6 separate regions of the Homo sapiens genome follow, and regions 1, 3, 4, 5 and 6 are each linked to region 2. The links are contacts of gene promoters, found by promoter capture Hi-C in blood cells and fetal thymus (Javierre and others, 2016). All regions are on one chromosome and are shown on one strand. The core of a region is centred on a gene start or on the middle of the fragment in contact, and the rest is flanking DNA. Distances in the headings are between cores, read along the strand shown. Region 1 holds the start of CHADL (chondroadherin like). Region 2 holds the start of SLC25A17 (solute carrier family 25 member 17). Region 3 overlaps EP300 (EP300 lysine acetyltransferase). Region 4 overlaps MRTFA (myocardin related transcription factor A). Region 5 overlaps EP300 (EP300 lysine acetyltransferase). Region 6 overlaps EP300 (EP300 lysine acetyltransferase).

What was found. The method cuts DNA at HindIII sites, captures the fragments that hold promoters and counts their contacts. A CHiCAGO score of 5 or more calls a contact.
Region 1: the fragment with the promoter of CHADL here is called in contact with the fragment with the promoter of SLC25A17 in region 2 in 5 of 17 cell types (neutrophils, monocytes, M1 macrophages and 2 more); the score reaches 12.4 in neutrophils.
Region 3: a fragment that was not itself captured here is called in contact with the fragment with the promoter of SLC25A17 in region 2 in 5 of 17 cell types (M2 macrophages, M0 macrophages, M1 macrophages and 2 more); the score reaches 16.3 in M2 macrophages.
Region 4: a contact is called between a fragment that was not itself captured here and the fragment with the promoter of SLC25A17 in region 2, in 1 of 17 cell types (naive B cells). The highest score is 5.4, in naive B cells.
Region 5: a fragment that was not itself captured here is called in contact with the fragment with the promoter of SLC25A17 in region 2 in 1 of 17 cell types (M2 macrophages); the score reaches 7.8 in M2 macrophages.
Region 6: a fragment that was not itself captured here is called in contact with the fragment with the promoter of SLC25A17 in region 2 in 5 of 17 cell types (M2 macrophages, M0 macrophages, M1 macrophages and 2 more); the score reaches 13.1 in M2 macrophages.

Annotation. Positions count from the first base shown.
Region 1 is chr22:41,237,777-41,242,313 of GRCh38, forward strand. It overlaps CHADL (chondroadherin like), which reads right to left and starts at 3,155. Exons shown (of 6, transcript NM_138481.2): 1 at 3,098-3,155; 2 at 1,667-1,844; 3 at 1-1,109. The coding sequence starts at 3,105. RefSeq lists enhancers at 1-131, 132-720, 721-1,308, 2,758-3,258, 3,259-3,759 and silencers at 1-5, 66-445. The HindIII fragment of the contact is 52,914 bases long and covers 1-4,537 here.
Region 2 is chr22:40,816,088-40,821,026 of GRCh38, forward strand. It overlaps SLC25A17 (solute carrier family 25 member 17), which reads right to left and starts at 3,259. Exons shown (of 9, transcript NM_006358.4): 1 at 3,108-3,259. The coding sequence starts at 3,161. RefSeq lists an enhancer at 1,232-1,291. The HindIII fragment of the contact is 13,078 bases long and covers 1-4,939 here.
Region 3 is chr22:41,154,990-41,157,489 of GRCh38, forward strand. It overlaps EP300 (EP300 lysine acetyltransferase), which reads left to right. Exons shown (of 31, transcript NM_001429.4): 17 at 6-124; 18 at 2,180-2,419. Among named protein-coding and RNA genes, the nearest start is that of EP300-AS1, 41 kb to the right of the region's middle. The HindIII fragment of the contact is 4,528 bases long and covers 1-2,500 here.
Region 4 is chr22:40,433,955-40,439,105 of GRCh38, forward strand. MRTFA (myocardin related transcription factor A) reads right to left here. Exons shown (of 15, transcript NM_020831.6): 5 at 1,545-1,600. Among named protein-coding and RNA genes, the nearest start is that of SGSM3, 66 kb to the left of the region's middle. RefSeq lists enhancers at 2,337-2,396, 2,657-2,786, 2,907-2,956, 3,027-3,076. The HindIII fragment of the contact is 881 bases long and covers 2,150-3,030 here.
Region 5 is chr22:41,124,526-41,129,598 of GRCh38, forward strand. It overlaps EP300 (EP300 lysine acetyltransferase), which reads left to right. Exons shown (of 31, transcript NM_001429.4): 3 at 1,339-1,515; 4 at 2,962-3,223. Among named protein-coding and RNA genes, the nearest start is that of EP300, 34 kb to the left of the region's middle. The HindIII fragment of the contact is 7,598 bases long and covers 1-5,073 here.
Region 6 is chr22:41,170,978-41,175,521 of GRCh38, forward strand. It overlaps EP300 (EP300 lysine acetyltransferase), which reads left to right. Exons shown (of 31, transcript NM_001429.4): 28 at 1,522-1,686; 29 at 2,646-2,807. Among named protein-coding and RNA genes, the nearest start is that of EP300-AS1, 24 kb to the right of the region's middle. The HindIII fragment of the contact is 346 bases long and covers 1,428-1,773 here.

The sequences.
Region 1 (4,537 bases), core at 1,905-4,404, 420 kb after region 2:
AGGTCCAGGAGCTGGGTGTCGCTGGGGAAGCCGCGGGGCACCGCCTGCAGGCCGCAGCCCTCGCAGCTGCTGTGCCGGGACTCGGGGACGCACACGCAGGCGCGAGGGCAAGGCGCGACTGCCCGCTCCTCCCCGGGGCCGCGCGGAGGGCCGCGCGGAGGGGCGCGGGGCCCGGCCACAGCCCGCTCTTCCAGCTCTTCCTCTTCCTGCGCCGCGTCCCCAGGGCAGCGCAGGTCCCAGGGCCGCAGGGCGTCCAGAGCCTCGCCCCGCAGGCGCCGCGGCCCCTGGCACGCGCCGTCCGAGCGCACGCGCGCCCGCGCCAGCCACTCGAGTAGGGGCCGCGCCTGGCAGCCGCACCACAGCGGATTCCCCTGCAGCCGCAGCCGGCGCAGCTGGCCCGGGCCCTGCAGCGGGGGCAGGGTGTCTAGCTGGTTCCCGCGGAGGTCGAGGGTGTGCAGGCGCGGACAGTGTGCGAAGGCCCTGGGACCCAGGGCCTGCAGGGCCCCGCCGTCCAGCAGCAGCTCCCGCAGGCCGGGCAGCGCCAGCCCGTCCTCCTCGCCCGCGTAGGTGAGCGGGTTGTGGCCCAGCTCCAGACGGGCCAGGCCGCGGGCCTGGGACAAGACAGGCCCGGGCAGAGCCTGGAGCTCGTTGTGGTGTAGGCTGAGCCGTCTCAGGGCGGGCAGGCCAGCCAGGGCCTCGGGGGCCAGCACGCTGAGCGCGTTGTGCGACAGCCGCAGCCAGCGGACGCGCAGTAGCCCCTGGAAGGCCATGGCGGGCAGGTAAACCAGGGCGTTGTGGGCCAGGTTTAGCGTGGCCAGCGCACCCAGTGCCCCGAACGTCCCCGGCCGCAGCTCCTCCAGTGCGTTCCCCTCCAGCTCCAGCCGCCGCAACGAGCCCAGCCCGTCCAGCGCCTCCTGGGGCAGCTCACGCAGGTGGTTGGAGGCCAGGTTGAGCAGGAGCAGGCGGCCCAGGCCACGGAAGGCGCCCTCGGCCACCAGCTCCACCTCGCAGTGGCGCAGGTCCAGGTGTGTGAGGTGAGGCACGCCCTGGAAGGCGGCTGCGGGGATCACCTTCAGCAAATTGCCCTGCAGGTCCAGCCGCTGGGTCAGCTGGGGACAGCGAGGAGAAAGTGGGGCTGAGCCAGGCAGGGACCCCGCCTTTGCAAGTGCTGCTTCTTCCCCGGAACACTCTTTTCTCCTGTCACCTTTCCCATATTTCTCTTCATCCGACCCCTGACACCTCCTCCAGGAAGCCTTCCTCTCCAGTGCCCTGGGCATCACCCACTGTGGCATTTTTCACACTGTGCTGTCCCTGCCTCCTCGCTCTCTCTCCTCCACTAGCTGATGACTCTGCAGAGCAGAGACCACACCTCACCCTGCCACAGCCCGCCTCTCCACCACAGGGTCTGCAGTGAATTCAGTATCGATCTATGGGTCACCTACTTATTCCATTCACACAGTAAGGATTTTAAATAGATCATCTCCCTGTTACTGGTTTTTATTATTCCCATTTTACAGAAGTGTAAACTGAGGCTCAAAGAGAAGTAATTTGCCAAGGTCTCCCGGGCAGGCGGTGGCAGATCAACTGGTGCCCAGCCCAGGCTCCTCCCTCTGGGTCCCCACCTTGCCCCACTGCCACTCTGTGCCTGTGCTCCTGCCCTGCTGACCTCAGGGATGGCGTCTGGCACCTCAGTGAGGTTCTGGTACCGGCAGGCAACGTGTCGCCTGGAGTTGTCACAGATGCAGGCCTGTGGGCAGCGCTGGGCGGCGGCCTGCCTAGCCGGGGCCAGCAGCAGAAGTACAAGAAGCGGCAGCACCAAGGGGACATGGGTGGAGCTCCGGGGCCTGGGACGGGGAGGGAGAGTCTGTTGTGCACAAGGGCCGAGGCCACATGCTGTCCCTCACTTAGTCCCAGCCATGGTGCAGCTCCTGCCCCAAAAACCCCTCAGAGCCTCCTCCTTTGGGCCCAGGAAAGTGCCAATCACCCTGAGCCTCCCTGCCCCCCACCCCCCACGCAGTGGAGGTCCTATGATTAGTCCTGTTTTACATGGGAGGAAACCGAGGCTCAGAAAAGTGACCTGGTTAGTCCCTTTGCCTCTGCCCAATGGCTCAGTGAGGACTTGCTGACTGTGAGAATGACTCCAGTTCAGAGCATGTTCTCAGGCTGTGGTGAGGCTCTGGTCCAGGGTAGGCTCGGAAGCAGCCTGTCCTCAGACTGATATGATGCCAGCTCCCAGGTGGCAGGAGCATAATGGTACCCCCCAGAAAGGAGGGAGGCATCCAGTCCGGGTCCTTGAGTCTTTTTTTGTTTGTTTGTTTAAATAGAGACAAGCCTTGCTCTGTTGCCCAGGCTGGAGTCTGGAGTGCAGTGGAATGACTATGGCTTACTGCAGCCTTCACCTCCTGGGCTAAAGTGATCCTCTCACCTCAGCCTCTTGAGTAGCTGGGACTACAGGCACACACCACCACGCCTGGCTAATTTTTTAATTACTTCTGGTAGAGACAGGGTCTCGCTATGTTGCCCGGGCTGGTCTTGAACTCCTGGCCTCAAGTGATTGTCCCACCTTGGCCTCCCAAAGCGCTAGGATGATAGATCACCTCCCCTGCCCAGCTGGCCCCTCTGTTCTCAGCCTGTGTCAGGCATGGCCTCTCCCCCATCGCTGGGCTGTTCCCCGGCCCCCAGGAGCCTCCCCCTCGCTGCTCACTGGACTATCGTCTGTTTTGGAGTCTCCTTTGGGTCCCAGGCTCCAGCCCCTGCGTTGGAGTTGGTGGCTTCTCCAGAGCCTGTGGTGAAGGCTGTGCCTCAGGGCAGGCCAGGGAGGGGACCCATGGGGACAGATCGCTGAAGCGACAAGCATTCATAATGCAGGGACCACTGCTGGGCTCTCAGACAAGCCCCAGAGGACCAGTTCCTGGCAGTGGCCACATTGCCACGTGTCTCAGAGCCCACCTTGGGAGACCCCCTTCCTGGAGAACCCCAGGAAGTCCCCAGAGCCCCTGCCCGCCAGCCTCTGAGAGGCCCAGAGGGGGCAGAGACTTACCTGAGGCCACTGAGCTGCTCTGAATCCCCCCTTGCACCATCGGGCCCAAAGACTCACCCCTCCATGCCGCCTGGAACTGCTGGTCCAGCCTGGAGGCGCAGCGCAGGGACAGGCTGTCCCCGCCTGGCAGGAGCCCCCCTCCACGGCCCGCAGGCCTGGCAGCTGGGACAGGGCTGAATGGGAGGCATTGTCGGCAGACCAGGCAAGCCAGGCTTCCCCAGGCTGAGGTGAAGAAGGGGCGGGCGGCGGGCGGGAGCAGCGGCTGGAGTTACAGGGCCTCCTGCCTGCCCCAGCCGAGGACTGAGGCCCCGGCCTGAATCCTTGGGCCAGCCCGACAGGGAGGGGGCACCAGCAGCTGGCCCGGGAGTCAGCAGTCCTGGGCTCCCTCCTGCCATGTGGGCTGCCCTCCCAGAGGCTGCTTCCTAGTCTCTGAAAAACACATCCCATTAATAAGTAGCTCTGAGGTCACAGTGGGGGTTCAGGCCCGCACCTGGCACACAGTGGGTGCTTCAGAACAGGTGACCCTTTCCTTCCGTTTGTGCTTACACATTGACATAAATAGTTTAATACTGGACACACAGGATTCTAGACACTCATTTTTTTCACTTAACCTCAGATTACTGGGAGTTATCCAAATTGACTCTTCCGAATCTCATTATTCTGTGGTATATAGTATTCCATTGTGTAAATGTATCACATTGACTTAGCCATTCATCTTGGACATTGGCTACCTCCAATTTTTTGCTATTTACAAACAATATTGCAAAGAATATCCAAATACGCATCTTCCCAAGCTCGTGTTTGTTTTTTAAATAATACATCCAGACCATGGCCAATGTTCATGTATCTTGATTTTTCAGATTCCTGCTTCTGATGGAATTGCATCTTCTACTGTTTGTTCCTTTAATTGGAAACAGGGGTCAGGCACAGTGGCTCATGCCTGTAATCCCAGCACTTTGGGAGGCTGAGGTGGGAGGATCACTTGAGCCCAGGAGTTTGAGACCAGCCTGGGCAACACAGACTCTGTCTCAAGAGAAAAAAAAAAGGCCGGGCGCGGTGGCTCACGCCTGTAATCCCAGCACTTTGGGAGGCGGAGGCGGGTGGATCACGAGGTCGAGATCAAGACCATCCTGGCTAACACAGTGAAACCCTATCTCTACTAAAAGTACAAAAAATTAGCCGGGTGTGGTGGCAGGCGCCTGTAGTCCCAGCTACTTGGGAGGCTGAGGCAGGCAAATGGCATGAACGCGAGAGCCGAGATGGCGCCACTGCACTCTAGCCTGGGCAACAGAGTGAAACTGTCTCAAAAAAGAAAAAAAATATATACATATATATATATATATATATATATATATATATATATATATATATATATATGTATGTGTGTGTGTATACACTTATGTGTGTATATATTTATATATAATAAAAATATAAATGTATATGTTTATATATATTTATATATGTTAAACAATGAACATCTGTGTGTACTTTTCCTAG
Region 2 (4,939 bases), core at 2,009-4,508:
CTGAGGCAGGAGAATCGCTTGAACCCAGGAGGCGGAGGTTGTGGTGGGCCGAGATTGCATCACTGCACTCCATGCACTCCAGCCTGGGCAACAAGAGCGAAACTCCATCTCAAAAAAAAAAAAAGAAAGAAAGAAAGAAAAAGAAAAAAAGAGAAAAATAGGCAACAAGTGAAAAAAAGAAGTATCTTTGTAGATTAAATAGAAATATATTACCACTATTGCCAGTCACTCTCTCTATAGCAGGAGTCAGAAAACTATGGCCTATGGGCCAAATCCAATCTAATATCTGTTTTTGAAAACAGTATTTTATTGGAACACAGCTCTGTCCATTCATTTACTGTCTACAGCTGATTTCACACGACCATGGCAATGTTGGGTAGCTGTGACAACGGTACACAAAGCCTAAAATATTTCCCATCTGCTCTCTTTAAAAAGTTTGCCAATCTCTATGTTCTTTTATAGCACTTAACTGTATCTAAAATTATTCTACTTATTTTTTATTTATTCATTTATTTTTTATTGTTTTTTTTTTTTTTTCTTGAGACGGAGTCTTGCTCTTGTCACCCAGGCTGGAGTGCAATGGCACAATTTTGGCTCACTGCAACCTCTGCCTCCCAGGTTCAAGTGATTCTCCTGCTTCAGCCTCCCGAGTAGCTGGGATTACAGGCGCCCACCACCATGCCTGGCTACTTTTTGTATTTTTAGTAGAGACGGGGTTTCACCATGTTAGCCAGGCTGGCCTCGAACTCCTGACCTCAGGCGATCCGCCTGCCTCAGCCTCCCAAAGTGCTGGGATTACAGGCGTGAGCCACCGCACCCAGCCTATTCATTTATTGTCTGACTCCCCTATTGCAATGCATAGTTCATGAAGAAAAAGACCTTCTCTACTGTACTCCTTGCACCTAGAACAGCGTGTGGCACATAGAATGCACTCAATAAAGGTGTTTAATGAACATTTATTGCAAGAAGGAAGAGAAAAACATTTCCCATCTTCTCACTTTCTTCTCTTAGATGCACTCCAACTATTTCCCCCACCACTCCACCAAAACTGGTCTTTTCAATTAACCACTGGATTTATCAACATGATAAATTCTCAGTTATTTCTCAGTCCTCACCTTACTTGACCCATCAGCAGCATCTGACCCAGCTGGTCTACTTCCTTCCCCAGAAACACTTTCTTCACGTGGCTTTCACTCTTAGTTCTTAGCTTCCCTCCTGCAGTACTGATCCATCCTTCGTTTGTCTCCTTTGCTGGTGCAATCTTATTTTCTCGGCCTCTTAATGGTTAGCCTGCTCCAAGACTCAGTCATTGAGATTCTTCTGTCAGTCCATACACACTTCCCTAGTGAGCTCATCTAGTCTCACGACTACTCTTAGGCATTTCAAACTCCTCCAAAACCAAAGCCAAATTTATCATTTCCCCCAAAACCTTCTCCTTCACAGCCTCTGCCATCCCAGTAAATACCACCATCCCTCCAGTTACTGAAGCCAAAAACTCTTGGAGTCAACCAACCCTCATTTTATAAATATATTCCAGGTCAATGATCACTTCTACCATGTCTGCTACCACCCGGATCCAAGTCACCATCATCTCTCGCCTGATAATTGCTTGTCCCCTGTTCCCTTACATTCTACTCTCAACACAGCAGCCAGGGTGATCACGTTTAAAGGTAAATCAGCAAGTTCAACAGCTAGCCAGAGTGAAAGTCTCACACAATTTGGCCCCCTGAAACCTATTTGCCTCTTTGTTCCCTCCACTCCGGAAACACAGGCCTCCATGCCCATCTTAAAGCAAGTCACGCAAGCGTCCATCTCAGCCTTCATGCTGGCTGAAAGGCTCTTCTGGCTGAACTGAATGAACCAGGCTTCCTGAATTAGGCATTTTCATGAAATGCTGTGTCACTTAATTCTCTAAACTCTGTGAGGTAGGTATCACTTCCCCCACTTTACAGATTAAGAAAGTAAGGTTTACAGGGCATCTAGCTAACAAATGATGGAGTTAGGGTTAAATCCAGATTAGTCTACAGAGAAGGTGAGCTCTCAGTGAAGTTTCTGGAGGCTAAACAGAGGATTCAGTGATGTTCCTCTGAAGTCACAGTGATTTTAACAGCTAAAGGTGTGTGCTAACAACTGGTGAAGAATATGAGAAAAGGCAGTCAAAGAGATAAAAGAACCACAAGAGGAGTCACCCAAGCCAAAAGTGGAAAGTTTTAAGGAAAAGAGGGGAGAGGGGAAGTGTCAAGTGGAACCTAGACACCAGAAGCCCAAGAATCAAGCGTATACCTCATAACAAACCACACTTGTGGTAGACAGGAACCCAGATCTTGATTTAGAAAGAAAGAAAAAAAAGCCAGGCACAGTGGCTCATGCCAGCAGTTTAGGACGCCAAATCGAGAGGATCGTTTGAGGCCAGGAATTCGAGACCAGCCTGGGCAACACTGCCAGACCCCAAAAATTTTTTTTAAAAATGTAGCCGGGTGTGGTGGCTCACACCTGCAGTCCCAGCTACTCAGGAAGCTGAGGTGGGCGGATCGCTGGAGCCCGGGAGATCGAGGCTGCAGTGAGTCGTGATCGCGCCACTGCACTCCAGCTTGGGCAACAGAGCAAGACCCTGTCCGGAAAAAAAAAAAAAAAAAAAAGGATCTATCTTCTCCTGCCAATAACGGTGCCCAGAGCTATCCTACTAGGTATTGCCACTTGCCCGCGGCAAGCGTGAAGACAGGCTGTAGGGAAGCATGTGACTAAGCAACACGGCTTCACACCTACGTTCTCCTCCGGGCCAGTAAAGCAAAGTGTGTGAGTGTGCGGTGGTAGCCTGACCTTAAACTTCCCACGGCAAAGATGCGGACCCTGAGCGGGCACGTGTGAACACGGCTCTCTACCCCGCAGTCTCTAGGAGACCAGGAGGTGGCGGAGTCTCGGCCCTTACCCCGAATTCCTCCAACAACTTTCCGCCAATGGCCCATTCCTCTCTGCCCCACAGTCATGACAGTGGACCCCAACCCACACTACCTCCCTCTCAGACCCATCCCTCAGGCATATCCCGGGACTGGCCCCCGAGAAGCCTTATAACCCGTTGCGGCCCGGGCGTAAAGACCCCGTCTCACCACGGCTCCGGCCACGGCGTGGACCAGGCTTTCGTAGGACAGCACGGAAGCCATTGGTGCGGCTCCTCGAAGACCCAGCCACACTTTTCCCACAGATGCCGCAGCCAGTGGAGTTAGGAAAGGAGCACCGGAGCTCAGGGTGTGAGAGTCGCAATCCCCGCCCTCTCAAACCCGCCCGCCTGCCCTAGAACCACTTCCGGGTCGCGGGGCGGGAAAGCGGGGGGGGGGGGGCGGCTAAGAACGCCCCTGAACGCTGATTGGCCCCTGTGGGCGCGGGGCGGGACAGCGAGGTGTTCGCGGGGCTGGGCTCCAAGGCGCAAGGCGGCCTGACACCAGGTACCCGGCTCCCGGTTCCTCCGACGTTCTCTGGCGTTCCCGGGCCCTGACCAGTTCCTCCATCTCAGAAGTCTTAATGGCCTTCTTTTACTCTGGTGACAAAGATGGGGAAACTCAATGAGACTCCAGTCTCCCTGTTTCTCTGCGCCTGAGCTCTTTTCTATTCTGAAAGTCACATTTTGGCCAAGAGGAAAAAAACTCACTTGTGGACTTGGAAACTTCTTCCTCCAGAAAAACCCTTGAGTGTGGTGGGAAGAGATGTTGAGCATCAGGAGCCCAAAATACAAGACGCGAGTGGGAGCCTCCCCCTAGTTGGCAACTATGGAAGTCATTTAACCTCTTGGGTTTCCTCTGTGAAATGACAATGTACTAGTACCAACAATCCCCATCTGCTGTGAGGATTACGAAAGCCAATTTATGTAGTAGTACTTCATAAAATACTGAAGGAAAAAAATTTTTTTCCATGTTGCAAAGTGACTAACAAAATTACACAAAACTAAAGCAGCCACATTCAGCTTTAACCTGTCATACTGTGAGATTCTGCTTCAGGATGCTCCTCAGGGACTCAGGGATTCTTTCCTGAGACACCATCACCACTTGTCTTTACCATGTTTCCTTTTAGAATATCCTCGTGATAACTCCTCAGTGCTGACTACATGCCAGGCTTAGTGTTTTATGCCCATCATCACACTTAATCCCTGGGAGAGGGGTCTAACAAAGTTTAACCTGGCCGTTTTCACAAAATTTGCAGAAGATACTGCTTCCAGGAACATTCCCATCACGCCATAGAATCATGACGTGAAAGTGAAGGACCAAAAGTGAAGCGAAGATGATTTTGGGCTGGGCGCAGCGGCTCAGGCCTGTAATCCTAGCACTTTGGGAGGCCGTAGCGGGCAGATCACTTGAGGTCAGAAGTTTGAGACAAGCCTGGCCCATATGGCAAAACCCTGTCTCTATTAAAAATAGAAAAAATTAGCCGGACATGGTGGCACGCGCCTTGTAGAAATTACAATGTTGAAACTGCAGCTACTAGGGAGGCTGAGGCAGGAGAATCGCTTGAACCCAGGAAGCAAAGGTTGCAGTGAGCCAAGATTGCACCACTGCACTCTAGCCTGGGACAGAGTGAGACTCCTAAAAAAAAAAAAAAAAAGATTATTTTGGCATGGGAACATAGAAACTAGTTGGCTGTAAAACTTGAGAACTCAGTTCTCATTGACTCCTGATCAAATTGGGAGCTTGCTGTCAAGAATATACTGGATTATGCATCATAGTTATGAAAACATTGTTAATACTTTGTTTTGACGTTTTTGTATCTTACATACCAAAAACATTTTGATCAGCTTTTTTTTTTTTTTAAACCTGAGACAGTGTTTCTCTGCGTTGTCCAGGCTGGTCTTGTACTCCTGGGCTCAAGTGATCCACCTGCTTCAGCCACCCAAAGTGCTCGTATTACAGGCATGAGCCACTGTACCGGGCCTTGCAACCTTTTTTTTTTT
Region 3 (2,500 bases), core at 1-2,500, 340 kb after region 2:
TTAAGTTTTCAAACCAGAAGAACTACGACAGGCACTGATGCCAACTTTGGAGGCACTTTACCGTCAGGATCCAGAATCCCTTCCCTTTCGTCAACCTGTGGACCCTCAGCTTTTAGGAATCCCTGTAAGTATTTGGTGGTACTTTTGATTTTATTTTTTAATTTGATAACAGCTTTATTGAGAGATAATTCACATTCCAAACAGTATAGCCACTCATTTCAAATTTGTAATTCAGTGATTTTTTTTTTTTCCCCCTGAGACAGGGTCTTATTCTGGTTGCCTAGGCTGGAGTGCAGTGGCACGATCGTGGCTCACTACTGTCTCCACCTCCCGGGCTCAGGTGATTCTCCCACCTCAGCATCCTGAGTAGCTGGGATAACTACATTCATGTGCCACCTCACCTGGCTAGTTTTTTGTATTTTTTAGTAGAGACGGGGTTTCGCCATGTTGCCCAGGCTGGTCTTGAACGCCTGGACTCAAGCAATAGGCCCATCTCAGCCTCCCAGAGTGCTGGAATTACAGGTGTGAGCCACTGGGCCTGGCCTAATTCAGGGAGTTTTAGTATATTCACAGAGTTGTGCATGACACTTTCATTTTCATCATCTGAAAAAAATCCTTTACCATTAACAGTCACTCACTATTTTCTCCCATAGCACCCCAATCCTAGACATCACCAGACTGCATTCTGTCTCTGGATTTGTCTGTTCTACATGTTTCATTAAATTGGAACATACAGTATGTGATTCTTTGTGCCAGGACGTTCCTTAGCATAATGTTTTCAAGGTTCATCCATGTTGTAGCATGAATCAGTAGCACATACCTATTTATAGCCCAATAATATTCCATTATTTTTCTTTACCTGTTGATGAGTTGATAGACATTTAGGTTGTTTACACGTTTTGACTATTAAGATAGGACTGTAGTGAACATTGTGTGGATTTAAGTTTTTATTTCTCCTTGGTATTTACCTAGGAGTGGAATTCCTGGGTTATATAGTTTGTTTACTTTTTTGTTGTTGTTATTTGTTTTTTGTTTTTTTGAGATGGAGTTTCACTCTTGTTGCCCAGGCTAGAGTGCAATGGCGCAATCTCAGTTCACCTCAACCTCCCCCTCCCGGGTTCAAGCAGTTCTCCTACCTCTCAGCCTCCCGAGTAGCTGGGATTACAGGCATGTGCCACCATGCCCGGCTAATTTTGTATTTTTAGTAGAGATGGGGTTTCTGTATGTTGGTCAGGCTGGTCTCAAACTCCCAACCTCAGATGATCCACCCACCTCGGCCTCCCAGAATGCCCAGATTACAGGCGTGAGCCACCGCACCCGGCCACTTTCGTTGTTTCAAGAGCAATAGGTCATAGCAGAAAAAAGGACCGTGGTTAGCTTTGTTTTTAAAGTTGCCTCCATATACTAGGCTGCTGGCAGATTTCATTTGGTGGTTTTAAACTGTTACTTGGCCGGGCACGGTGGCTAACGCCTGTAATCCCAACACTTTTGGAGGCCAAGGCAGGCAGATCACTTGAGTTCAGGAGTTGGAGACCAGCCTCACCAACATGGTGAAACCCCATCTCTACTAAAAATATAAAAAGTAACTGGGCGTGGTGGTGCACGCCTGTAATCCTGGCTACTTGGGAGGCTGAGGCAGGTGAATAGTTTGAACGACCCTGGGAGGCAGAGGTTGCACTGAGCCAAGATTGCACCACTGCACTCCAGCCTGGGCAACATGTTGACAGAGACTCCATCTCAAAGGTCAAGTGCTTCCAGGGGCAAAAGCCTTTTAGGACTTTTCCTCTCTTGTATCTTGCTGTGATTTCAGATGGAACATTTTAAGTTCTGTGGGCTTAGTTTCCTCATTGTACACCCCTTCTAGTACTAAAATTTTAAATGTCTTTGACTTTACTGATCTCACATGTACTTTCATAAAGAACCTGAAGTTGCTTCAGTAGAATATCAGCCTGATGTCTAGAAAGTCCATAGTAGTTCTGTTTCTCTGCCCTTTGAGTAGTTTAATATCTCTGTAAACTAATATTTAAAGAAGTGATGGACATCAGTCACCTCTTGGGGAATATAGACAGGCCAGAAACTAAAACACTGCCTGGAAAATTAACAATGATAATGGATGATACTCCATCTCCCGTAAAAATAGTGAGACTTGAGTAATGTTTGATGTCACTTGTCTTTCTAGGATTACTTTGATATTGTGAAGAGCCCCATGGATCTTTCTACCATTAAGAGGAAGTTAGACACTGGACAGTATCAGGAGCCCTGGCAGTATGTCGATGATATTTGGCTTATGTTCAATAATGCCTGGTTATATAACCGGAAAACATCACGGGTATACAAATACTGCTCCAAGCTCTCTGAGGTCTTTGAACAAGAAATTGACCCAGTGATGCAAAGCCTTGGATACTGTTGTGGCAGAAAGGTAAGAAATGTGTTTCAGATTTGACTTTAACTTTTCTGGGATACCTAGAATAATATAGTGGTGACTGGGATAAGAGAATAT
Region 4 (5,151 bases), core at 1,340-3,839, 380 kb before region 2:
GAATCCACAAAGGTTTGACTCCCAGCTTTGCCACTTATTGGCTGGACAAGTGAGTTAACTTCTCTTAGCTGCATCTATAAAATGAGGATAATACCACCTAATTCATAAGAGTTGATGTGAGGATAAAAAAGAAACAGATACAACCTCTTACATAAAGGTGCTCAATAAAACAGTCTCTTCTAATCAGCTCTGCTGGTCCCTGCCTATTTGAGAAGCAGTCAAGTAAATGGTGCCCAGTCTTCTGACCGAATAGGCGCACAGGCAACGCCATCCTTTCCCCCAACACTGTACTCTCCAGTGCTCTCAGCAAACTAAACCACTGCTGCTTGTTACTCCTTTGGTTCCCAGGACCCATGACCTCATTCTTTCCACTTACTCTAAGAATTAATCATGATTTTCTGGGGAGAGGGGAATGAAAGAAAGTTTAAAAAAAAAAAAAAAAAGTCTTGGAGGTAAATATTTCTGAGACTCTAAAATAGCTGTGAGGCTGGGTGTGGTGGCTCATGCCTGTAATCCCAGGACTTTGGAAGGGCAAGGCAGGCAGATCACTTGAGGCCAAGAGTTTGAGACCAGGCTGGCCAACATGGTGAAACCCCATCTCTACTAAAAATACAAAAATTACCCAGGCGTGGTGGCGGGAGCCTGTAGGTCCAGTTACTTGGGAGGCTGAGGCAGGAGAATCGCTTGAATCTGGTAGGCGGAGGCTGCGGTGAACTGAGATCACGCCACTGCACTCCAGCCTGGGTGACAGAGTGAGACTCCGTCTCAAAAAATAAAGTAAAATAAAATAGCCGTGGGTCTTAAGGAGATGCAGCCCATGATCTGTCTAGGGGGATTATCTTCCCATGATTTTATGTGAAAGGAAAAAGTAAAGGGAGTGTGAGGGGGAAGCAAGTTCTGGTGACTTCCCCATCTCTACCCACACTGGGCAGCAGAATATTCCTCAGGGGCCCCTGGGGAACCGAAACAGAGTTGGGATGGGGACGCAAGTAAGGTGCTGTGGCAGAAAACTTGGGCTTGGAGTGTGGGCCAGTTTCTGCTTTCCACAAGAGTCAAGTGGATACCACCTACTCTGGGCAGATGGAGACCAAGAAGGTTTCCTGCCCCTTGGAATGCCCGTCCTGTGAGGTGTGGCCAGTGTAACCCCGGACTTGGGAAGCTTTTCCATTGGCTAATGTTTGTGTCCCAACATCTACAAAACGTTAAGTGGAATTAAAGATGGGGAAATACCAGTGGTCTCCAAAGCACTCCAAAATTCAGGCAAGGAGGATCGGGTGATCATTCCATATCCTTAAATGTACAAAAAGAGAAACCTCATTCCAATCATGTTCCATATAATCACCATGGGAGGTAAATGAGAGAAGGGATGAAGTAGGAGAAGCAGAGCTTTCCATTTAAAACCACAAGGCCAGGGCTGGCCCTAGAGTCTAGCAGGCTCTGGCCTCAGAGTTCTATGGAAAGCTCTAAATGGAAATATAACCAGCAATGCAATGAGCTCTGAAAATGCTCTTTGGGAGTTCTGAGGGGGAAAAAAGGTACCTTACCCTGGCCCGCTCCAAGCTCCTTCTCTGCTCATGAAATGCGGCTGGACTTTTCAAAGCTGTTGAGAGAAGAACCGTAAAGATTACCTTCAAGCGAAGCATCATGTCTAGTGCTACGATATTCAGTGGAGAAGGCATCTTAAATTCATGTTACTGGCTGGGCGTGGTGGCTCACGCCTGTAATCCCAACACTTTGGGAGGCTGAGGCAGGCAGATCACGAGGTCAGGAGATCGAGACCATCCTGGCTAACATGGTGAAACCCTGTCTCTACTAAAAATACAAAAAATTAGCCAGGCGTGGTGGTGGTGGGCGCCTGAAGTCCCAGCTACAAGGGAGGCTGAGGCAGGAGAATGGCGTGAACCTGGGAGGCAGAGCTTGCAGTAAGCCGAGATTGCGCCACTGCACTCTAGCCTGGGCAACAGAGCGAGAAACCGTCCCCCAAAAAAAAAAAAAAAAAATCACATTACTGTTAGTAGTACTATAAATATCAGTTGAAGTGAAGGCAATGACACCTGAGTAAGCATGTATCTTTATGGTTTAGCTACCCCATTCAAACAGTTTTGGTAGAAACCAAAATATGACTCCTAATGGGAACTGTCACTGCCTAAGCTTGGGCTATATAAAGTGCACCCATGGAATGTAACTTTAACAAACACCCTGGCCCATGACTGGACCGTCAGCCGCAAATCCCCCTTCAGCTAGGACTCCAAGAACGCCTGCTAGGCCTCACATTATTCTCAGGACACCTGCACACAGGAAGGGGCACAGATGCATGCCAAATTAACCTTACTTCCTCAACCTCACGAGGAATCATAAAGTGGCCAAACTGTTTCAATGGGACAGTTAAAACCAAAAAGATATATGTCCACTCGGCACTATTTCCTTCTTCACTGCACCTGTTATTTATAGTGCTGCTAAAATTAACTTGAATTTCATCTCTAAGGACTAAAAGAACCCCATGGCAATTGTATGTGAAGGAACACACACAACCGACAGCTGAGACGAAGGGCTCAGCTCTATTCTGGGGATACCACACAAAGACCACAAGTCTCGACTTCTGCAAACAACACTCAGGTGGCAAGACCAAACCAAGAGCCTCCAGAAAGGCTGCACCATGAATGGAAGGTCTGACTCCTTTTGTCAAAAACTTGGCTGTAAGGACAAATAGCAACTTAAGACACTCTGAGGATGAGAGGGAAAGGCCTGACTCACTTCAAGTAGGGAACAGAGGCAATAAGAGAGAAATTTATAAGACTGTGGTCAGTTTCACTTCTCCTGCCCTAGAATTTCCAAAGAGCTGTGAAACTGCGAGCAGAGATAACTTTTGCTAGGCTGCTGGCTGCGGTAGGAGTGCAGGGTTAAGGAGCTGCTAAAAGTAGCAAGAGAGCATAGATAGGACCCTATCCTGCCTGGGCCGTTGTGCTTCTTCCTCCTTCCTCTCCACCCCCAGCGGGGGGCTGGGCCTCAGCAACAGCAGTCCCAGAAGAAAGCTTCAATTGTCCCAGTGGTATTTATTTTTAAAAATTTTTTGTGAATCTTAAGATAAAAAAGAAACTACAGTCTTAAAAGTACTACTGAGATCCCATCTTCTAACAGAAGGGGGAGCTCTAGATTTAACAAATAACATCAAAGAAAAACCAGTACAAGTTACCTCCCCAACCTACCTGGGCACTATCCAGGATTCCCCACTTCTTACATGGGCAGGTCGTGGGCATTTCAGTGGGTAAATAGACACCCCCTGCACCTGCTTCTACTGTGTAACGCTAGCTCAACTCCAAACGTCCTGCTCTGCAGGAACCCGGGTGTGATGCATCACACGTAACCTTGGCTCTTGGAAAGCTTAGCACATGCATGAGACAGTAAGTACAAAGAATCAAGAGAAAACGGACACTGTCCACCCCACCCCAGCTTCCTTTTCTGCCTCATTTTTCTCCGCAGCACTCATCACTGTCTTGACAGTCTTTATATAAATACTACGTATCTGGCTGGGCATGGTGGCTCACGCCTGCAATCCCAGCACTTTGGGAAGCCGAGGTGGGCAGATCATGAGGTAAGGAGTTCGAGACGAGCCTGGCCAACATGGTGAAACCCCGTCTCTACTAAAAATACAAACATTTTTGTACAGGCATGGTAGAGGGTGCCTGTAATCCCAGCTACTCAGGAGACTGAGGCAGGAGAATCACTTGAACTCAGGAGGCAGAGGTTGCAGTGCGCCAAGATAGTGCCACTGCACTCCAGCCTGGGAGACAGAGCAAGACTCCGTCTCAAAAAAAAAAAAAAAAGGCGGAATACTACATACTTTTCTTGTTTACTCTCAGTCTCCCACGTTTACATTTACAACATGTCCCCATCAGAGCACAGCAAGGGTTTTGTCTATTTTTTTAGTCACTCACAGCATTCCCCAAGTGCCTAGAATACCAGGCACACAGTATACCCTCAATAATTATTCACTCGATGAATTAGTGAGTATTCTGTAAGAAACGGACACAAGGTGACTAGTGACAGGAGGACAGGAGGATTCTGCGGCAGAGCTCTAAACTTTCATCTAAACAGCCAGAATTCTGGTTCTCAACCGGGTTCGAAACCTCACAGAAGTTCTGGATAGACAGTCAAGGGATCTGTGTTCTAGTACTGAGTGCTACCAATTACTGCTGGGTGACATGGGTTTTGACTGCTTTCTGGGTCTAATTTTCTTCCAGAGTGAGAATCTGCCCACCTCTCAGAACCCTTGTAAGGAAGAAACACCAGTGAGAGTGCCCTGAACCAAATGGTATATGTGTCGATATATTCAGGTGTTGCTGTCACCAAATGCTGTAATTTGGTTGAATCACTGGCTTGATTCACTTACAGGCCAGCTAGTTTCTGTACCACAGCCAGAGATTCTCTGTCTAAAACCCTGGCTGACTTGCTGCCTCAACAACCCACACTGGCTATCCCCAAAGGGTAAGGCACAAACCCAAAGGCACAAACCCAACTTCTAGAAGAACAATTCACCAGAACATCTTGAGGACATCATCTTCATGTACAAAGGGTGGTGCACCACTAGTGGAGGACAGGTGATAGGTGAAATGGCTACAGCATACATAGTCCCCCTCATCTGCAGTTTCGCTTTCCATGGTTTCAGTTATTCTAGGCCAACCAAGGTCCAAAAATGTTACAGTATTTTGAGTGGGCCCATATTCACATAACTTTTATTACAGTGTATTGTTAAAATTGCTCTAATTTCTTACTATGTCAGATTTACACATCGAATTTTGTCATAGGTCACATGTATAGAAAAAAAAAACACAGTACGTATAGGATTTGGTACCATCTGCAGTTTCAGATATCCACTAGGGGGTCTTGGCACGTGTTCCTCAGGAATAAGGAAGGATTACTCTATATGAATTCCTATTTGGTCCTATTAAGGACATTTTCATGTAATGGCAAGAAAGGGATTAATATCTGTTGGATGCTTGTATGGAAAGCACTGTTCTAGATATTTTAAACCTGTTAGCTAATTTAATATTCCTAATCATTCTACATGGTAGGTAATATCCCATTTTATAGATAAGGACAGGGCCAAAAAGGAAAGGCAAGCAAATAGCAGGGATAAGATTATAACCTAAT
Region 5 (5,073 bases), core at 1,311-3,810, 310 kb after region 2:
GTGGTTCACGCCTATAATCGCAGCACTTTGGGAAGCTGTGGTGGGAGGATTGCTAGAGCCCGGGAATTTGAGACCAGCCTGGGCAACATGGCAAGACCCTGTCTCTATTTTTTAATAGTCAAAAAAAAGAAGAAGAAGAAAACATTCAAATGCTTGAACATGACAAAGGGGTTAGATGGCTTATTAAGTTGAATTCGCCATGTAGCATCATGTGTGACGTAATGGAAATGAATGGCAAACCTTGTTTAACAGAATTAAATGAAGATGATTAAAAGTATTTCTAAAACATCTTTATTTCAAATATTTATGAAAATAACTCTGTACATTTACCATACCCAAGGCCCCTAAATCTTAATTTTGATCTTAATCTTGAAAATGTATTGTTGTTAGCATACTTTGTATAGTGGGTTTTTTTTGTTTGTTTGTTTTTGAGACAGGGTCTCACTCTGTTGCCGAGGCTGGAGTGCAGTGGCCTGATCATGGCTTACTTGCAGCCTCAACCTCCCAGGCTCAGGTGATCCTCCTACCTCAGCCTCCTGAGTAGCTGGGACCACAGGCACATGCCACCACATCCAGCTTTTCTTTCCTTTTTTTTTTTTTTTTTTTTTTTTGAGATGGAGTCTCACTCTGTCGCCCAGGCTGGAGTGCAGCGGCGTGATCTCGGCTCACTGCAAGCTCCGCCTCCCGGGTTCACTCCATTCTCCTGCCTCAGCCTCCCGACTAGCTGGGACTACAGGCGCCCGCCACCACACCCGGCTAATTTTTTGTATTTTTAGTAGAGACGGGGTTTCACCATGTTAGCCAGGATAGTCTCTATCTCCTGACCTCATGATCCTCCCGCTTCGGCCTCCCAAAGTGCTGAGATTACAGGTGTGAGCCACTGCGCCCGGCTGTTTTTTGGGGTTTTTTTTTTGTATTTTGGTACCGATGGGTTTTCACCATGTTCCCCAGGCTGTTGTCAAACTCCTGACCTCAAGAAACCCTCCTGCCTTGGCCTCGCAAAGTGGTGGGATTACAGGTATGAGTCGCCAGGCCCGGCCACTTGGTTTTTTGCCATCATGGCTCCCTACAACCTCTACCTCCCAGGCTTCACTGATAATCCCACTTTAGCCTTCCAATTAGCTGGGACTATAGGCTTGCGCCACCATGTCCAGATTTTTGTATTTTTTAGTAGAGATGGGGTTTTGTCACGTTGCCCAAGCTGTAGTGTCTTTTCTAATAGAAGCTGAGAATTTCCTTTGAAACTGTCTTTGTGAACTTGGAAGTGAAATCAGAAAAGGAATAATAATGTCTTAAATTTTATTGCTTATTTTGTTTTCTTTTGTTTCTTACTCTTAGATGGGAATGATGAACAACCCCAATCCTTATGGTTCACCATATACTCAGAATCCTGGACAGCAGATTGGAGCCAGTGGCCTTGGTCTCCAGATTCAGACAAAAACTGTACTATCAAATAACTTATCTCCATTTGCTATGGACAAAAAGGCAGTTCCTGGTGGAGGAATGCCCAACATGGTGAGTACTAATCCATTACAGACTTGTTTTCAAACTGGCATTTTGACAAAAGAATTGTGTTAAACTTTCACCCTTCTGTTATATATGCTGGGATTTGTACCCACTAGGAGCCTAAATTGATATGTACTTGATGATCCCTGTGAGGAGGCTTGTGCTTCCTTTCCATTTCTCTGTTTTTTTTGTTCCATGTGGTTATTGATCAGTGAGCATGTTGATCCAAACAGGAGTAAGTGAACTGCTACAATGAAGTTTTAGGGGCCTGCCATTCAGCAACTTGGTCTTGTGAGCGTTTCCATACGATACGAAAGCGGAACCTTTCACTTTTGGGGGAAGGAATCTCTGGCAAAGGATCCGAACTCTCAGTGACCATATTTACCAATATTATTTGATTCTACTACACCCAAGTAAATTCCCTCTCAAAAGTAATGTATTGTTTTAAACAGCAATTTTTGTTAAATAAAATTTTCAGGAACTTCTAGTGTTATTTTTGTACAGTCAAACTACTAGTAGTAAATGTGTCTGCATTCAACTTTGGAAAAACATTGTCTGAAAAAATCCTCTTTCAGATGTTTTAGTTTTGTCCTTTGTGTCATTATGTTTATGGACTGCCTATATTTGAGATACTCTGCCAAGTACTGGAGTTATACAGATGAATGAAACATGTCATCTCTGTCCCGAGAAATGTTCACTTTTTTTTTTTTTTTTTTTTTTTTTTTTTTTTGAGACGGAGTTTAGCTCTTGTTGCCCAGGCTGGAGTGCAGTGGTACGATCTCGGCTCACTGCAACTTCTCCCTCCTGGTTTCAAGCAACTCTCCTGCCTCAGCCTTCTGAGTAGCTGGGATTACAGGCATGTGCCATCATGCCCGGCTAACTTTGTATTTTTAGTAGAGACAGGGTTTCTCCATGTTGGTCAGGCTGATCTCGAACTCCCGACCTCAGGTGATCCGCCTGCCTCGGCCTCCCAACGTGCTAGGGTTACAGGCGTGAGCCACCGCGCCCGGCCTGAAATCTTCACTTTTTAATTTAAAAAACTAAATTTATCCCAGAGTTTAGAAAAACTAGTTTTTCACCAACCCGAAAGACCCCTCTGCTGAGTCTCTTGAGGAGTTCTTCATTGCTCTTTAAAACCTAATTTGGGTGTGCTTTTAACTACAGACACCCTCTCACCCTTCCCTCTCCCGCTGGAGTTTACCATGTCCTTCTCTCTGCTTTTGCTCTCTGTGTATTATACATACTTATATCACTTCGTAATGTCATTTTTTTTCTTATTAAATTGAGCTTCTTAAAGGTAGGAGCCATGGTTTATGCATTCCCTGTGTCAAAAAATGGAGTCTGGCTTATAGTAGACTAACCATAAAGGTTTTCATTGAAAATATCCACATCTCTATTTATTAAGAAATAGCACATTATGACTCCTACCATTAAATATATTGTTATATCTCTCAGGGTCAACAGCCAGCCCCGCAGGTCCAGCAGCCAGGCCTGGTGACTCCAGTTGCCCAAGGGATGGGTTCTGGAGCACATACAGCTGATCCAGAGAAGCGCAAGCTCATCCAGCAGCAGCTTGTTCTCCTTTTGCATGCTCACAAGTGCCAGCGCCGGGAACAGGCCAATGGGGAAGTGAGGCAGTGCAACCTTCCCCACTGTCGCACAATGAAGAATGTCCTAAACCACATGACACACTGCCAGTCAGGCAAGTCTTGCCAAGGTAAGTGGACCCACAGGGTTACTGTACTTAGCAATTTTTACAGCCAGGGAGAAGAAGGAAAATGTGATCAAGTCTATTTTGTGGTGATGGATATGTTTAATACCTTAATTGTGGTGATGGTGTCTGTATGTACAAAGTCACCAAAATGTATACATTAGACCAGGTGTGGTGTCTCACACTTACAATCCCAGCACTTTGGTAGGCCAAATGGGGAGGATTGCTTGAGGCCAGGAGTTTGAGACCAGCCTGGACAACATAGCAAGACCTCGCCGGGCATGATGATGCACCTGTAGTCCTAGCTGAGGGACTAAGAAGGCTGAGGAAGGAGGATTGCTTGAGCCCAGGAAGTCAAGGCTGCAGGGGGCTATGATTGCGCCACTGTACTCCAGCCTGGGTGACAATGTGAGACCATGTCTTTAAAAAAGGTTGGGCGCAGTGGCTCATGCCTGTCATCCCAGCACTTTGGGAGACTGAGGTGGGCAGATCACTTGAGGTCAGGAGTTCAAGACCAGCCTGGGCAATATGGTGAAACCTCGTCTCTACAAAAAAATACTAAAGAAAATCAGCCAGATGTCTGGGTGTGTTCCTGTAGTCCCAGCTACTTGGGAGATTGAGGTGGGAGGATGGCTTGAGCCCAAGAGGGCAGGGGTTGGTGTGATTCGACATCATACCACTGCACTCCAGCCTGGACGATAGAACCAAACCCTGTTTCAAAAAAAAAACAGTGTACATATGTGTAATTTTTTAAAATTATTTTATTTTATTTATTTGTTTTTTGAGACAGAGTCTCGCTCTGTTTCCCAGGCTGGAGTGTGGTGGCACAATCTCGGCTCACTGCAAACTCCACCTTCCAGGTTCATGCCATTCTCCCGCCTCAGCCTCCCAAGTAACTGGGACTACAGGCAGGCGCCTACCACCATGCCCGGCTAATTTTTTGTATTTTTAGTGGAGACGGGGTTTTACCGTGTTGGCCAGGATCGTCTCAATCTCCTGACCTTGTGGTCCACCCGCCTTGGCCTCCCAAAGTGTTAGGATTACAGGCGTGAGCCACCACGCTTGGCCAATATGTGCAATTTAAAAAATATTTATACCCCAAAGCATTTAGAAAATTCCATTGTCTAAATGCATCATCACAGTTAACTCACTCGGTAAAGGTCGTCTTGGCTGCGTCCATTCTGTGGCAATTACGAATAAAGCTGCCATAAACAAAATCAATTTTGAGACTCCTTTACTGATAGTGACGTTATTTTAGGAAATGATAAAAACACAGTTTTTTTTTTGAGATGGAGTCTCGCTCTGTCGCCCAGGCTGGAGTGCAGTGGTGTGATCTCAGCTCACCGCAAGCTCCGCCTCCTGGGTTCATGCCATTCTCCTGCCTCAGCCTCCCGAGTAGATGGGACTACAGGCGCCCGCCACCATGGCGGCTAATTTTTTTTGTATTTTTGGTAGAGACGGGGTTTCACTGTGTTAGCCAGGATGGTCTCTATCTCCTGACCTCGTGATCCGCCCGCCTCGGCCTCCCAAAGTGCTGGAATTACAGGCGTGAGCCACCGCGCCCGGCCAAAACACACTATCGTTTTTGTGAGCAAGTATCTAAGGATGTGAGAAGAGAATAAATTTTAAAGGTCTTCCCATGTGGTGATCCTCATAGACTTTGATTTTTATTTGCCCTAGCATAGCATACTTTAAATGTTATTGAGGGTTTGCTAACTGTCATGTAGGCAAGTGTTCAATTTAATACAATTTACTGCAGTCATTTTTACCCGATCTAATACAATTTGTATGAAGTCATTAAAAAGTGTTCTTATAGGCATGTGTGTCATAACATTGGTTTAGAGTACATTTGCTTA
Region 6 (4,544 bases), core at 351-2,850, 350 kb after region 2:
TAAACAAAAGTCTTGCTTGTTCTACCTCTTGCATGTAATTCCTAAAAATGCTAATTTGATTGCTTTTATTTTGTATATTCAAAATTTTTCAATATAAGAAAAACCAGGTTTTGAAGAGCGGTAGATCAAGAAATCCCTGTTTTAAACATGTAACCAAAATTTTATTTTATTTATTTTTGGGGGGAGGGTGGGGATAGAGTTGGGGTATCGCCATGCTGCCCAGGCTGGACTTGAACTCTTGGCCTCAAGCATTCCAAAGTGCTGGGATTACAGGCATGAGCCACTGTGCCCGGCCTTAAAATATATCTTTTTGTTTTGGTTTTTTGTTGGTTTGGTTTGGGTTGGTTAGGGTTTTAGGGGTGTGGGTGTTTTGTTTTCAGAAAGGGTCACTCTCTGTCACCCAGGCTAGGGTGCAGTGGCATGATACCCGCTCATTGCAACCTGTGCCTCCCAGGCTCAAGCCATCCTCCCATCTCAGCTTCCTGAGTTGCTGGGACTAGGTGCACACTACGAGAGCTAGCTGATTTTTGTATATTTTTTGTAGAGACAGGATGTCACCATGTTGCCCAGGCTGGTCTCAAACTCCTGAGCTCAAGTGATCTGCCCACCTCAGCCTCCCAAAGTGCTAGGATTATAGGCATGAGCCACATCACCCAGCCAAAAATATATTCTCCCTTTTTTTTTTTTGGACGGAGTTTCAGGCTGGAGTGCAATGGTGCAGTCTCCTGGGTTCAAGTGATGGTCCTACCTCAGCCTCCCGAGTAGCTGGGATTACAGGCATGCACCACCAAGCCAGGCTAATTTTTTCTATTTTTAGTAGAGACGGGGTTTCTCCACATTGGTCAGGCTGGTCTCGAACTCCTGACCTCAGGTGATCCACCTGCCTCGGCCTCCCAAAGTGCTGGGATTACAGGTGTGAGTCACTGCACCTGGCCAAAAATATATTCTTAATTAACAGTATTATGTTATTCATAAATATAGGTTGTCTCATGATACAGACTTGTCTTCCTCAATTTAGTAGTTCAACTAAATAAAGAAGTTTTCCTAAGCAGCCCAGCAAATCATTCTGCAGCAGATACTATTTCCAGTATTTGTAGTTTTGGTCATTTTGAACAAAGCTGTCAGTAAAAGCTGCTGAAATTCCAAGGATGGGTGTGAGGAGGGCATGCTTCATACCACATATTCTGTGATAAGGAGTGGTAGGGGCCATGGCATGCATGATGGTGCTACCACCCTGACGTTGATCCTGGCAGGATAATTGCCACTTGGTTATATAAAGGCAGATAAGCTCCCTGTTTTTGTGGGTAGAAGAAATAGAAAACCGGAAATATTGACTTTAGGCCAGGCCTTTTCACTATTTATTTTTCTAAATACTCCCTGGCTTACGGCTTAGGTATAAAGTCTCTGCCAGCTTTCAAGACATTTTAAGCTTTCATGTTTCTTGTCAGCCATGATTATTCTGTATAATCAATGCTTTAAAAGAACATAGAAATTCCTATATGTACATGCATGTTTTCACAGGATATTTTTAAACAAGCTACTGAAGATAGATTAACAAGTGCAAAGGAATTGCCTTATTTCGAGGGTGATTTCTGGCCCAATGTTCTGGAAGAAAGCATTAAGGAACTGGAACAGGAGGAAGAAGAGAGAAAACGAGAGGAAAACACCAGCAATGAAAGCACAGATGTAAGGGCATTGAGTTTCCTTTGAAACTTCTATCATGATTCTAATATTTAATCCAGAAGTGCACTTAAACTTTCAATTGGGTTTTAAAGCTTTCAGGTGTAAAAGAGCTCTTTAAGTTGGACAAGAAATATTGGCTTAGAGAGGTTATTAGGGTTCTGTTTCAGTGGTATTAAACTTTTAAAGCATCAGAGCCCCTTTTAAAATGGCATCTCAGACTTTGAGTAATGTGAAATGATAAAAGAAACTGAAGGAAATCCTGAAAAACTGATAGAAGATTACTTATCTGAAGGACTAGGTTATGAATATTATAGGCCTTGTGGGTCACATATCTCTGGCATATTTTCTGTCTTTTAAAAACACACTCTTTTTAAATGTAAAAAACCATTCTTAGCTATACAAAATAGGCCTGAGCCAGAATTTAAGTTACTAAGCCTGGCTTAGTAACCTCACCAGTTATTTCCCCATAGCATATCTCGAATTACCTCCATTGAATTTAACTTAACAAAAGGCACCCTTAAATAGTCTGTTAACAAACTCTTACAGCCTTGTCATTTAGTATTTGTAGGCTCATAACATTTTAGAATATGAGTGGAAGGAAATAAAACCAAGGTCTTCTGGCTCCCCACTTTGATACACTCTTCACTACCCCAAAGTGCCACCCCTTCCTTGTTCCCTAGCCCCAATCTGGGATACATTCAATCAATCTACAGGGTCTGCACATTCTGTGGCCTCTTCTAGGCAAAAAGCTAAAGGGCTGCCATTGCCTTAAAGATCACTGGGAGAAAATTAGGTCAAATAACAACTTTAAGGAGAAAGAATAAGTGAAGAGAACAGCTAGTAAAATAAGTTACAGGCATAAGATTATGATATCTAGTTTCAAAGAAGGGAGATATTCTGTGCTATTCCCAAATTACTTAACAAAAACCTTATTTTCTTGTCTCCTTTGTGCTACTCTGCAGGTGACCAAGGGAGACAGCAAAAATGCTAAAAAGAAGAATAATAAGAAAACCAGCAAAAATAAGAGCAGCCTGAGTAGGGGCAACAAGAAGAAACCCGGGATGCCCAATGTATCTAACGACCTCTCACAGAAACTATATGCCACCATGGAGAAGCATAAAGAGGTAAGATGCAGCCACCCAGAGTTGGGGAAAAACGGCAAGATTTCTGGCCAGGCATGGTGGCTCACACCTGTAATCCCAGCACTTTGGGAGGCCAAGGCGGGTGGATCACCTGAGGTCAGGAGTTCAAGACCAGCCTGACCAACACGGTGAAACCTTGCTCTACTAAAAATACAAAATTAGCTGGGCATGGTGGCACATGCCTGTAATCCCAGCTACTCAGGAGGCTGAGGCAGGAGAATTGCTTGAACCTGAGAAGCGGAGATTGCAGTGAGCCGAGGTCACTCCATTGCACTCCAGCCTGGGCAACAAGAGCGAAACTCCACCTCAGAAAAAGAAATAAGAAATGAATAAAAACACTGACTGTTCGCTGGGCGTGGTGGCTCATGCCTGTAATCCCAGCACTTTGGAGGTTGAGGCAGGCGGATCACTTGAGGTCAGGAGTTGGAGACCAGCCTGGCCAACATGGCGAACCGAAACCCCGTCTCTACTAAAAATACAAAAATTAGCCTGGCGTGGTGGCACACACCTGTAATCCTTGGGATGCTGGGGTGGGAGGATCACTTGAACCTGGGAGGCAGAGGTTGCAGTGCACTTACAGCCTGGGTGACAGAACGAGACTCTGTTTCAAAAAATAAAAAGATTTAACCTTTCTGAAAGTGAATTAGTAAATAGAATTGGAGAAAAGTTAAACTTCCACATATGGACTTACAACCCCCTTCTCAAAACTTTTTGAGTTATTTCATCATTTACATTGTTTAGTTGTTCTTGCAGTCATTTGGGAAAATAACTGGGTAAGGTTTTTTTTTTCTCTCTTTAATATCATATAATTGATAACGAAAGCCAGGAGAATTGAAGAGTAATTCCTCTCAGGGTTTGTCCAATGGTAGTAATCTCGATTGTTCAGTCAGACTCCTCATTTTACTATCTCGGTTCTCAGACATATAATCAAGTTCTTATAGGAAGTGGTAATTAAGTTGAGAGGGAAATGAAGGCTTGATTTCAGGTTGTAATTCCGTACCTAAAAATTGGTTAAACAGTCTCTTTGGGAGAGAAATAGTTAACAAAATCTTTTTTAGAGAGGAATTTGTTATAATGATGTTATCATGGTGAACACCTATATACATAGGTGTTCAAAGTATCTTTTCCCCCACTGCTCCCCCCATCACCACCCCTTTTTTGTTAGCCTAGAATAATGGGCTACGATGTAATAATGGTAATAACCATTATCTCAGCCATGCTAGTGAAATGGAAGGATTCCTGAGTTCTAATACGTTAGGTAATGATTATTAACAATTAATAGTTACTAGCTATTTCAAGCAGTAAGTAATGCCACAGAATCCTAGGCAGTTGGGAAAAGCCCTTAGAATATATTGTAATAGGTTTGACTTAAATTGTGGACACATTCCATGGCTGTTTAAATTTAGGTTGTAAATCCAAGTATTGGCCTGGTTGTAGGGTGACAGAAGCAGCGAACATTGCTGGCCAGAGACTGTGAGTGTGGCTGCCAGTGTGCACAGATGTTGAATAATCTGTTATCAGTACAGCAGTTTCTCACAAGTTCCTAATTTCTTAAGGGGATGTTTTACATTTTATTACTTTAATAGGTGTTTATAGTTATATACTAATTAATGTCAAATACATATGTAATACCAGCTTTTTATACCTTTTACACTAATGGTTATGAGAATTGATGGTTGTTACAAGTTTTTTCAAACTTCAATGAACAAGAATTTTATT